Regions from separate parts of the Homo sapiens genome. Here all the other regions are linked to region 2. Evidence: promoter capture Hi-C in 16 types of primary human blood cells and fetal thymus (Javierre and others, 2016). All regions are on one chromosome and are shown on one strand. The core of a region is centred on a gene start or on the middle of the fragment in contact, and the rest is flanking DNA. Distances in the headings are between cores, read along the strand shown.

Evidence for each region. The method cuts DNA at HindIII sites, captures the fragments that hold promoters and counts their contacts. A CHiCAGO score of 5 or more calls a contact.
Region 1: a contact is called between a fragment that was not itself captured here and the fragment with the promoter of KCTD15 in region 2, in 3 of 17 cell types (endothelial precursors, M2 macrophages and M0 macrophages). The highest score is 6.4, in endothelial precursors.
Region 3: a fragment that was not itself captured here is called in contact with the fragment with the promoter of KCTD15 in region 2 in 2 of 17 cell types (endothelial precursors and M2 macrophages); the score reaches 6.2 in endothelial precursors.

What each region holds. Positions count from the first base shown.
Region 1 is chr19:33,987,258-33,991,402 of GRCh38, reverse strand. No RefSeq gene overlaps it. Among named protein-coding and RNA genes, the nearest start is that of SUNO1, 84 kb to the right of the region's middle. The HindIII fragment of the contact is 3,072 bases long and covers 242-3,313 here.
Region 2 is chr19:33,795,243-33,799,504 of GRCh38, reverse strand. It overlaps KCTD15 (potassium channel tetramerization domain containing 15), which reads right to left and starts at 2,635. Exons shown (of 7, transcript NM_001129994.2): 1 at 2,518-2,635; 2 at 739-837. RefSeq lists a silencer at 3,937-4,056. The HindIII fragment of the contact is 5,196 bases long and covers 1,768-4,262 here.
Region 3 is chr19:34,010,062-34,014,244 of GRCh38, reverse strand. No RefSeq gene overlaps it. Among named protein-coding and RNA genes, the nearest start is that of SUNO1, 110 kb to the right of the region's middle. The HindIII fragment of the contact is 332 bases long and covers 1,353-1,684 here.

The DNA of each region.
Region 1 (4,145 bases), core at 528-3,027, 190 kb before region 2:
CCTGTCACCATGAACTTGAGGATTCTTCATTTCAGACTTCGTTAGGTAAGTGTGTTTCAGTTTTCCTCTTAGTCTCAGGGTAACCCCTCAGTCTTGGGGCATATTCTACCTTCTAAATCACAGCCCTTCTGTGGTTTTGATGGAAAGCCTGAGTGTTTGCTAAGTCCCTCTAACTTGGTAGGATTCCAAATCCAAACTGTCTCTCCTGTAGTGGGTGACAGTTGAAATCTCTGCTCAAGCTTTTCAGTCTCCCAGCTGTTGCCTTTCAGAAGGCTTCCTAGAGTTTCCCTGAATGTGCACAGTTCAGCTAAGGATTTGAGAGGAGTTTATATGCAAATTTAAGGACTCTTTATTTGGATTCTTTTTTTTTCCCCTGGGTTTTCTCCCCCTCAATTTTCAGCCTCTCTTGCTGTTCAGGCTTTCTGTTTCATTTTTAGCTTCTCTACCTCTTGCAGACTAGAGAGTGCCTTCAGGGAAAATTTAAGGACATTGATCTTACCTATTGCAGTTGCCATTTGTATGTGTGCTTTGGGTCACTTTCTAATGCCTTCAGATAGTTTCTTTACATTTTGTCCAGAGTCTATAATTATTATCTATAGAAGTATTAGTTTGATAAAATGTAGTCTTTCATTATTGAAACCACCATATCACAGCCACTGTGTTTAACTATTTCTAGTATAAGGTTGTTAAGTTCATTGCCATACTCTAAATACTACTCTTATGCTTATACTTCTGGATGTCTCAACTTAAAAACTATAGTAGCTTTTTGCTATGTTGAATTGAAATTTGGATGAAATTTAACTCAATCTATGTCTTTCACCTTCTCTGGCTCACTCATACCAATATGATTACATTATTATGTTTGAATATTTTAATTGCTACCTTTATAAGGTTATTAATAAGGTTAAGTAACCTTATTAAACCTTTACTTTTTATTTTATCAATAGTATCTTGATTGTCCACATAATAAATTGAGAATATTAGCACTCCTAACCTTCTTCTTCCTTCTGCATTTTTTTGCCTTCCCAGCCCCCAACTTCTGTGAGCTGTGCCTTTATTTTATTTTATTTTATCTTATTTTTTTGAGACAGAATCTCACTCTGTTGCCCAGGCTTGAGTGCAGTGGCATGATCTTGGCTCACTGCAACCTCTGCTTCCTGAGTTCAAGTGATTCTTGTGCCTCAGCCTCCCGAGTAGCTGGAACTATGGGTGTGCACCTCCATGCCTGGCTAATTTTTGTACTTTTAGTAGAGACGGGGTTTCACCATGTTGCCCAGGCTGGTCTTGAACTCCTGCCCTCAGGTGATCCGCCCACCTTGGACTCCAAAGTGCTGGGATTACATGTGTGAGCCACCTTGCCTGGCCTATGCTTTTACCTTTACATTGCCAAGTGTAATGACGTTTACTTTCTGTCACACAAACCCAAATATTCCTTAAGTGACTTGCCTACAACTTTATTCAACATTTATTAATTCAACAAATATTTATTCAGTTCCTACCCTGAGCAAGTCCCTGCCCCTGGTGGTGGAGAAACCACAATAAACATAAGAGTAGAAAATCTCTGTCCTCATGGAACCTACTTTCTAATGTGGGAGATAAAAAACAAGATGAAGAAGCAAAATATGTAGTATGCTGGCTGTGCTTAGAAAAACATTAAGCTATAAGGTGTATAGGGAATATGTGTGTGTGTCACAATTTAGATAGAATAGTCAGAAAAGCTCTCTCTAAAAGGTGATATTTGAGGAAAACCCTGAAGGAGGTAAGGGAATAAGCCATGAGAATATCTGGGGAGAGTCCCAGGCAGCAAGTAAATGCCCTGGCCTCACTCTTTTCTCTCTCTAATCATCTGCCGGGGCTCCCCATTGGCTGAATCCAACCAGAAGGCACACAGCAAGGAAGCTGGTTAATATGTCTGTCTATACGGTCAGCCTCCTGGAACAAGGATAATGGTGGGAAGGGATGAAGAGAAGATGGGAGGAGCAGCAAATGGAAGATATGTGGCATACCCTTCCTCCTGACATCCCAGGGAAATGATGGTAAAAGAATAGAAAAGATTCACTCTCACACTTCGATAACAGGAGAGGGATCACAGGTGGGCCACTGAAGTACATGTATGTTATAAACAGTATTGTTTGCTCCAGAGCCAAGAAGAATCGATGACTACATTCTTCCCAGCTATCTTAATATTCCCACTTCTGTGCTACTCACAGAAGAATGTCCAAAAGAATTTGTTCTTACACCTGATTAATTGCTCACATTCATGACATATTTTCTACATTATGTTTAGATGACACCTTTCTTGTATAATTTCCCCCATCCCCTTTGCTGGTCACCCTTCTTTGCTCTTGATGAGGGAAGAAACGTGTTTTTTTCATTGTATCACTAATAACTTCCAGGTTTTTTTCCTATTACCAATAAATTCCATATAATTTATTGTATTCTAACTCCACTGACTTCTGCTCAAATCTGTCCTGATTTCATAATATTTTGTTATGACTTTATTACGCATCTGTTAGGTTTTCCTAGAGACTCTAGCTGTCTTTTTTTTTTTCTTGCCTTGCATTCTATGCATTTTTCACATTCTCGACCGTTACAAAGCCTAGTCATAGGCTCCCATGGAATTCACTCACTTTTTCCCTTGGACATCTCCCATCTGAAGCCTGTTGTTTTGATGCTCCAGGCAGGGATGGTGGCTCCTCTGGCTGCCATACAACTGACATTTGGATTCCTTCCTGCTCTCCAAGTTCCTTGTCTTCTTCCATGTCAGCTAGACCTTTCTGAGGCAAGACTAAATCCTTAAGTAACTTCCCCAGAAGAGGTATGTGGGAGAGAAACTTTCCGAGTATTGGCATGTCTGAAAACTACCTTTATTTTTACCTTGAACTTGGTGGATAATTTGGCTGGGTATAGAATTCTGGGTATAAAATAAATTCCTTCAGAAATCTGAAAGTCACACCGCATTGTCCTCTAGCATCTAGTATTGCTCACAGGAAAAGTAACCTGACTCTGATTCTTTTATTTTGCATAGCTGACTTCTTCTTTCAGAAGTCTTTTCTTGGTATTCTGAAATTTTACAATGGTGAATTCAGGTTGGGCCTTCTACATTCAGCTTGCCCCCCTTTGTTGAGAGCTCCTGTTACCTTGAAGATTGATGTTATGCCCATCTGCCAAGGGCAGAATTATTACCTGGCTGCTGGCCTTTTTAGCATTTGGAATTGAGGAGGCATACGGCAGGGTTGATTATTCAGAATACAGACCCTTTAATTATTTCCCCTATTGCCAGCCCCACTGCTCACTTTTTGGTTGTCAAGCTTGACACTTCTGAAACTAGAACTTCTCATGGGCAGTTTCCTACTCTCAGACACAGACCCCCCCGACCTGTGTTCAAGCTGTGGCTTTCTCTGCCTTCCCTCTCCAGCTAATTCACATCTGTCTATACCTTTCAACTAAATCTTTGGGGAAACTCAGTGACCCACCAGTGATCCCTCTCCTGTTCTCATAGTGTGAGAGTGAATCTTTTCTGTTCTTTTACCATCACTTCCCCTGGGTGTCAGGAGGAAGGGTATGCCAGGTGTCTTCCATTTGCCAGTCCTCCCATCTCATCTTCATCCTTTCCCACCGTTATCTTTGTTTGAAGAGGCTGACCATATAGACACATTAACCAGCTTCCTTCCCTTTGCCTTCTGGTTGGATTCAGCCAATGGGGAGTCCCAGCAGAAGGTCAGAAAGAGGAAAAAGTGAGGCCAGGGCATTTATGCCTTCAACAACCTCCCTGTGAGGTTGTCTCAGGCTGGCTGAGTCCCTTACTAAGGGCCACAGCTTTTTCATGGTGGCCTCTTGACACAGCCTTCTGGCTTGAGATGGCAGGAGCCTCACCTTTCCAAGCCAGTCACGGCAAAGGACCCCTGCTTTTTCTGGCCCCGGGGTACTGCCCATGCTTTGTGTTTCTCCATACCCTGCCCACATGTTTGTAAGTAATCCCTTTATTAAACTCTCCTTGAGCGATTCAATTTGAGTATCTTTCTATTTCCTGTTGGGTCTCTGGCTAAGGCAAAGAGAACATAAATCATAACTGCCTGGTCCACTATATTGGGCCCAGGAATCTTAGGTAGTTCTTAAAGCACATGGTTTTTTTTCATGTAGAC
Region 2 (4,262 bases), core at 1,386-3,885:
GTTCACTGATTTACAGCTGTCTCAAAAGGGAGGAAAGAGGAGATTTGCACGTGAATAGTCACCCCCCTTCACACATCCACAGACACTGGCTTCCACAAACCTACCCTGGACGTCTCTCGAAGGTTTAACCTTTAAGAGAGAAACCACTTGAAATTCTTGGGACCCATGGGATTGCTTTTTCCCATTAAAACTCTGGGATCAAAATTTGTGCCTTGAAATTCAATATCCAATTTTAATCCAACCAGAATCAAATCCTGCAAATGTAAGCAAGGTTGCTCTCCCTGAGTGCCCGGGCAAGTTTCCTGACATAAAACTGGGGTGGGAGGTTGCAATGGGCAGACAGTGATGTTTAATATATACCCTCACTGGGGCCTGTGGACTCAGAATCCACTGCTTTTGGCATTCCTGAGTTCTACAAGCTTAAAAAAACAAAACCAGGTCACTTAGCTCAAGGAGTTCTGAGAACCAAAACAGACCTCAGGAATGGATTATCCTGCCCTAGGAGGCTCTGCTGGGGGAGGAGTCAGAAGGGAAGACGCGCTGAGGATAAACTGAACAGGAAGGAATTCTGGCTGAAATTCTATCAAAGCGGACTGCAAGATGTTTTCCCCAATACCAGGACACTATTCCAAAGTGACGTGAACACCAAGCCTCCATCACAGAAGCCGCTCCACTCTGTTCTTAGCCCCTTTTCCCTCCCAAGAACAACCTGATGTTCATGGCAAGCCAGAAACTTACCGTTGGAAGCCCCAGGCTTTACGCCTTGCCGTGAATCTCCAAGGTTTCTCCCAACAAGCGCATCCGTGCGGGACCACGACCCTCTTTCCGAGACCACTGCTTAAGTCAGAAGCACAAAAGTGGGTGCAGTGAGAGATACAAGTTCATTCCACCAGCACCAGCATCAAACCCAGCACCCAGCCCCAGTGCGCCCTGGCCCGCCTGTTGCAGGGGCCTCAGCGATAGCGGTCGGGAGGGCCCACAGGTTTCCAAACTGGCCCGGTAGTGACCCGCTTCTCCAGCTGCGGCGGGAGACCCGGGTCCCTGCCCGCCCGCCGCCGAGCCCCGCCCGCCCGAGCAGAGAGAAGTGAGCAGAATGCCACGCTCATTTACACACAAAATGATTTTGTGTCCCATTGCGCTCGCAGTTGTTCGGCTCTCTGGGGGTGATTAAACTGGCTGAGCTGCGGCAGCTTGAGACGATTTCACTAAATCGCTTCTTCTGAAGTCGCTTCTTTGCTAAGCTGTTATTTTAACCATAAAAGGTAAACAGAAGGCGCCTCTCGAGCTCCCCTCGGCTCCGCACTCAGGGCGCTGGCCCGGGGCGAAAGTCCTGGGGGCCTGCACAATTGTCCCAGGGGTGGCCCCGGAGAGGCAGGCGGGCCACCTGGTGCGCGCCAGCCTCCCCACCCCCCCCCTCCCGCCTCCGCCGCGGAGCCAGCCGGCCGGTGTGAACTTAGGGGCGACGGGAGAGGGCTTGGGCCAAGGCTGGAGGCGCCGCGGGGCGGGGTGGCCGCGGCACCCGAAGCGCGGGGCTGGGCTGGGAGGGGTTGCCGCGGAGGCGGGGCGGGGACAAAGTTAAATCAAGAGGCAGACACTTGGAGACCACAGATGGGAAGCTCGCCTAATTAAGGACGTAAAAGCGCTTTTGTTCTCAAAGTTTATTGTTGCCGGGATTAAAAAAAAATTAATTGAAACTAATGCTGTTATTCACTCGTGCAGTTAAATTCCTTCATGCACATTTGAGATACGGAGCGAAAACTTGAAGCTTATCTTTCTGCAGTCGCGGGTGGGGGCCGCCGGAAGACAGAAAGGCGCTGCAGAGGCGGGGGTCCGCCCCCGGGTGTGTTTGCGAGTGTGTGCCGGGTGCGCGCGTCCAGGTCAGGGGGTGCGGGCGGGCAGCGGGGAACCGGATCTGCAGGCGGCGATCCCTCCCATCGCGGCCCCTCTCCCAGCCCCAAACCCTGCGCGCCCGGGACCACCACCAGCGCGACAGCCCCTCCTGCCAGGTTTCGGACTCGTGGGGTGGGCGTCAGAGGACGCACATCTGTCCCACTGGAGACTTTCTCTGATTTTGGGCGCCAAGCCGGGACTTGTGCATCCCGAAGCCCCAGTTGCGTGAGCCCGTTTCTGACCCCGGAAACTCGCCAGCTCTGCAGGGCGCTCGGCCCAGAACAGGGGCCAGAGTGCGGGGACCTCCACAAGCGCGCGCGCGCGCGCGCGCACACACACACACACACACACACACACACACACACACCGCGCGGCAGGAAGCTCCGAGACCGCCCGCGTGGGGAGGGTCCACCCGCGGCCAGGACCAGCCCACGTGGGCAACCCCACTCTTGCACCAGGCCTTTGTGCTGGGCACCCCCGCGCCGCCAGCCCCCGCCGCCCAGCAGAGGGACAAAGCGGCCGCCCCCGCCCAGGTCCAGACCCTGGCCGGGCGACTTTCTCGGTATCGCAGCCACTTCGGGGCAGGGTTGCGCGGCTCTGAGCGGTGGCCGCCCGCGCTGAGCTTACCTCGGAGCCGGCAGATCGGGCTCGGGCGCAGCCCCCGCCCCACGCAGCTGCCGGTCTCGGGCGCCGGGCGCAGCTTCGCCGCCTATGCTCGCTGCGCGGGTCGCTCCGGTCTCGTCCTGGAGTTACTTTCTCTCTCGCCCCCAACCCTCCCCCCACCCACCCCTCCCGCCCCGGCCCCCGCTTCACGCGGCCCCTCGCGGCGCGGCGCGCCGGGGCCTCCCCTCCCCACCCTCCCCTCGCCTCCTCCCCTCTTCGCGGCCGCCGCCTCCGCCGCCGCCGCCTCCTCCTCGCGCCGCTCTCCGGCTGCCCTCCCGCCGCTCCCACCTCCTCTCCTCCCTCCTCTCTCTCCGGCGGCCTCCCTCGATTGCTGGAGAGAAAACCAGCCCCCCACTCCAGCCCCTAGCCAGCGCCTCGCCGCGGCCCAGCCCGGACGTAAAGGGCAGCGATCCGGCCCCAAATTACCCAGCGCGAACGGGCGCGCGCGGCGACTCCTGGCTCGGGGCTCGGCTGCGCCGCGGGGCAGAGGATTAGAGTCGCAATTAGCTCCGCGCGCCCGCGCCTGGCGACAAAAACGCGCCGTTTCCCCTCCTTTCGCCGGGCGATCCCCACCCGCCTCTCCCGAAGCCCGCGCCTTCCCGCCGGGGCCGCGGCCAGGACCCTCCCGGGAGCGGTGCGCCCAGGCCCCAGCGCCCTCCGCGGCCCAGCCCCCCGCCCCCCGCCGGCCGGCCACGCGGCGCCCGGGCCTCCTCCGGGCTCGGGGAGGGGGCGGGGGAGAGGCTGATTTTAATCATTGTCATTTCATCTGATGTAATATTTCCCCGGGCGCTTTCAGCTGGGCATAAATTTTCGGCTCCCAAATAAGTAACACAGGGCACGTTTCTCACATTTCTTGACTCCTCGGTTACAAAGAGGAGAGCAGCCGCCGCCGCGGCGCCCGGGGCTGGGGGCGGGACTTGGGAAGAAACTGGGCTGCCAGTCGGTCGGGGCTGGAGCGGAGCCGGGGGCCAGGCCGCCCCTCCCCCGCTCCCTGGCCGCCCTCCCAGGGTCTCTGCCCCGCTGCCCCTCTCCCGTGACGTCTGCGGACACGCGGTCGGCCGCCGCGGGGGAGGGACGCGCTGGGGCACCGGGCCGACCGCTCGCGGCTAGACGCGCCATTTCCTTTACGCGCGCGGCGCGATGGAGACGGCGGCAGCCAAGACTCCCCGCGGCCGAGGTCCGCGCCCCGGACGCCCCTCCCCAGTCTCCGCTTCGGCCGCCCCTTCCTCCTTTTCTCCCACTCCCACTCCTCCTCCCCTTCCTCTTCCTCCTGTTTCCTTTGCGCCCCGCCCGTGCCTCCTCCTCCTCCTCGGCGACCATTTCCCGGCTCCTAGGAAACGGAGCGCGCGACTGGCCGGCACTGCGCCCCCGCCTGGCTCCAGGGACGCCCGGGCCGGAGACCGGCTGGGACCGCGGGGCGGGTGCGCACGGGCCGGAACGGCGCCTGGGTCCCGACCGCCGGCTCCGGCCGGGCCTGGACGCCCCCTAGCGGCCGCACTCCCGGGGTGGGGGGCGCTCGGGGTCGGCCTGGAGCTGGGGTGAGGGGGACTCGGGGTGCCAGTGGGAGGAAGGTGAAGTGGGGGGGGCTTTCTCCCTCTACTAGAGGACCTCGCGCGCGTGGAGAGAGCGTCCAGACAGCGCTTCCGTAACTTCTTTACGCGGGAATCAGCCGAAACTTTCCTCCTAAGGGAAGGTTTTATTTATTTATT
Region 3 (4,183 bases), core at 269-2,768, 220 kb before region 2:
TCTATTCTGTTCCTCTGTGTCTGTGTGTCTGTTTTTATGCCACTACCATGCTGTTTTAATTACTGTAGCTTTGTAGTATATTTTGAAGTCAGGTAGTGTTCTTGCTCTAGCTCTGTTCTTTTTACCTCAAGATTGCTTTGTCTATTTGGGGTCTTTTGCAGTTCTATATGAATTTTAATATTTTTTTCTCTTTGAAAATTGCCAGTGGAATTTTGATAGGAATTGCACTGAATCTGTAGACAGCTTTGGTATTATGGACATTGTAACAATATTAATTGTTCCAATTATTGAACATAGGATATCTTTTCACTTGCTTGTTTCCTCTTCAATTTCTTTAATCAATGTTTTATCATTTTCAGTGTACAGATGTTTCACCTCCCTGGTTAAACTTATTCTTAAGAATCTTATGTTTTTTGGCCGGGCACAGTGGCTCACGCTTGTAATCCTAGCACTTTGGGAGACTGCGGCAGTGGATCACCTGAGGTCAGGAGTTTGACACCAGCCTGGCCAACATGGTGAAACCCCGTCTCTACTAAAAATATAAAAATTAGCTGGGCATGGTGGCTCATGCCTGTAATCCCAGCTACTCAGGAGGCTGAGGCAGGAGAATTGCTTGAACTCGGGAGGCAGAGGTTTTGGTGAGCCGAGATTGTGCCACTGTACTCCAGCCTGGACGACAGAGCAAGACTCCATCTCAAAAAAAAAAAAAAAAAAAAAGAATCTTATGTTTTTATTGCTATTATAAATGGGATCATTTCTTGATTTCTTTTTGGATAGTTTGATGTTAGTGTATATAAATACTACTGATTGTTCTGTGTTTATTTTGTATCCCACAACCTCACTGAATTCATTTATTAGCCCTAAACATGTTTTGGTGGAGTCTTTAGAATTTTCTGTATGCAACCTCTTCAAACAGAGCCAGTTTTTCTTCTTCCTTTCTTATTTGAATGCCTTTATTAAATTGAATTGGCATCATTGTCTTATTCCAGATCTTAGAAGAAAACCTTTTAGCTTTTCGCCATCGAGTATGTTGTTAGCTGTGGGCTTGGCACATATGGCTTTTATCATGTTGAGGTATATTCCTTCTTCACCTAATCTGTTAAGAGTTTTTAATTATGAAGTGATGTTGAATTTTGCCAGATGCTTTTTCTGCATCTTTTGAGATAATCATGTGATTTCATCCTTTATTCTGTTAATGTGTATATTACATTTATTGATTTGCATATATTCTTCTACTTGACCAAGTCTGCTGTTGAAACTCTATATGAAATTTTTCAGTTCAGTCATGTGTTCTTTAGGCCCAGAATTTCTTACTGGTTCTTTTCTATGGCTTCTATTCTATTTGTTAAGCTTCTAAGTCTGTTTTTCTGATTTCGTTTAGTTATCTATCTGTATTATCTGCAGCTTACTGAGTTTCTTTAAGTGATTATTTTGAATTGTTTATCAGGCAGTTCATAGATCTCCATTTTTAAAGGATTGGTTACTGGTGCTTTATGTTGTTCCTTTGGTGGTGTTATGTTTCCCTGATTACTCATGCTCCTTGTGGCCTTGTGTTGGTGTCTGTGCATTTGAAGAAGTAGGCACCTCTTTCAGTCTTTATAGATTGGCACATCCAGAGAATGGAATATTATTCAGCACTAAAAAGAAATGAGCTACCAAGCCATGAATAGACCTGGAGGAAGCTTAAATGCATATTACTAAGTAAAATAAGCCAATCTGAAAAGGCTACATACTACATGATTCCAACTACATGACATTTTGAAAAGGGCAAAACTATGGAGACAGTAAACAAGTCAGTGGTTTCCAGGGGTTAGTAAGGACAGAAAGATGAATAGGCAGAGCACAGAGGATTTTTAGGGCAATGGAACTATTTAGTATAATACTACAATTGTGGATGTATGTCATTACACATTTGCCCAAATTTATAGAATGTACAAGATCAACAATGAACCCTAATGTAAACTATGGACTCCAGGCAACAATACTGTTTCAATGTGGGTTCGTCAGTTATAGCAAATGTACCACACTGGTAGGAGATGTTGACAATAGAGGAGGCTGTGTGTGTGTGGGGGTAGAGGGTATATAGGAAATCTCTGTACCTTCCTCTCAATTTTGCTATGAATGTAGAACTGTTCTAGAAAATAAAGTTTATTAAACATTATGTAATTTTGCTTGAATGTAATGTTCAAAATATAACAAAATGAAATGGTAGAAATTGTTGAACTTCAGGTAAATGTTTCTTGATTACAAGAGATAGTAGTTTAATTAGATTCCTCTAATCTAAGAAAAAGATGGTGGCCCAATTTCCTTTTTCCAAACACCAAATTGTATTTTCCTGTGTGGGAAAAGGATTTTGTCTCACTTAGATTCACTCAGCAGTTCTACACTCAAAATCTAGAGGAAGTGAAAAGAAGGATTGGTTATTTCCATTTCTGACAATATGATAGACTAGATATCCCAAAACCTTTTTGTCACAAAGTGGCTATCTAAGGTTGCCTGGTAATTTCCCACCACCTGGAGTCTTGAGTTTTACCTGCGGGGTGCAAGGGCCTTGGCCTGTGAAAGTTGAAAGGTTTGAACAGTGTTGATCTAGAGACACATCTGTGCAGTTAAAAGAGATGATCCAGTAAGGAAATGTGGTTTTTTCAGCTTGGACCCTGGGCAGAATTAGAAAAAGAAACTTCCCCTGATAATTTAGAATTCAGACCAGCCTTCATAAGGTGTGACATTCTAATTTATGGCACTGGCACAGTACATAACCCTCAAGCCAAGAAATTAATGTAAAGTGGTCCTGGATTGGGAATATCTTCAGGTACCTAAAAGAAGCAAATGCAGATCTTCTCTGGAGGAATGCACTCCCAAGCCAGGCCTCATGAAATCCCCACAGAAAAGTCCTGATGAACATAAGCTGATATTGAAAAATCAAGAAAAACACAAGCAAACATGCCATTGCAAATGAAAATTAGCAGAAACAACAAAGAGTAGAAATTAGTTCCCTAAAGACTTCAGATACTATAAATTTTAAGACATAGAATATAAAATAAATGTGCTTTCATGTTGAAAGAAATAAAAAAAGAAAACAGAATTGTAAACTAAGAAAAAAAATCAGGTAGTTTTGAAAAATATTCAAATAGAACTTCTAAAAATGAAAAAAAAAACACATTGAAATAAGAACCTTATGGTTAAACAGCGGATTAGACATAGCTGAAGAGAGAACTAGCAAACAGGAAAGCAGAGCTCAGCTATCCAGAATCCAGTATAGAGAAACAAGGAGATAGGAAATATGAAGCACAGGCTAAAAGACATAAAGGATAGGGTAAGAATGCCTAATATACATTTCATTGGAATTCTAGAAAAAGAGAATAAATAGAATGAAAAAGAAGCAGTATCCAAAAGAAAAATGGCAGAGCTATATACTAGAATTTTCTAGAACTCATGAAAAAAAATGAAACTTCACATTCAGGAATCATAATGAATCCCAAGTAGGATAGAGAACAGGACAAAACAAAATAAAACTCCACTTGAGATCCTTCATGATGAAATAACAGATAATTCAATATGAAGAGATCTGTAAAACCTTAAAAATATCCAGGGAGTAAAGGCAGATTGCATAAAAACAACAGAATTTAGACGGACAGCTGACTTCTCAATAGCAATAATGGAAGCCAATGGTGCTATTAAGAAGTCCAATACCATTTGGCTTTTTCTGTCTATGTGACCTGTTTTTCTTAGAATTTTCTTTTAATCCTTGGAGTTCTGAAATTTTATAGAGATGAACCTTGGAGTAAGTATTGTTTCATTAATTGTGCTGGTTTCTCAGGGAGACATTTTGGCTTGGCAACTCATCATTGTCTTTAGTTTTGGAATTTGTTCTTGCATTGTTTTTTTGATAGTTTCCAACCCTAGTTGATCTAATTCTTTTAAAATTTCTCTCCTATTTTCTTTCTTTTAATTTCTTTCCTCCCTTCCTTCATTTTTCTGTAAGTATATCAAACTTCTTTGATTTGAACTTCCAGATTTTGGGACAGATTGAATTTTTTATTTTAATCATTATATTTTAAATTTCCAATAGTTCGGTTTTTGCTTCATGTATTTTGAAGCTCTATTGTTAGTTCCATACATATTTTGGATCGCTATATTTTCTTGGTAAATTGATCCTTTAATCATTAAGTAATGTCTTTCT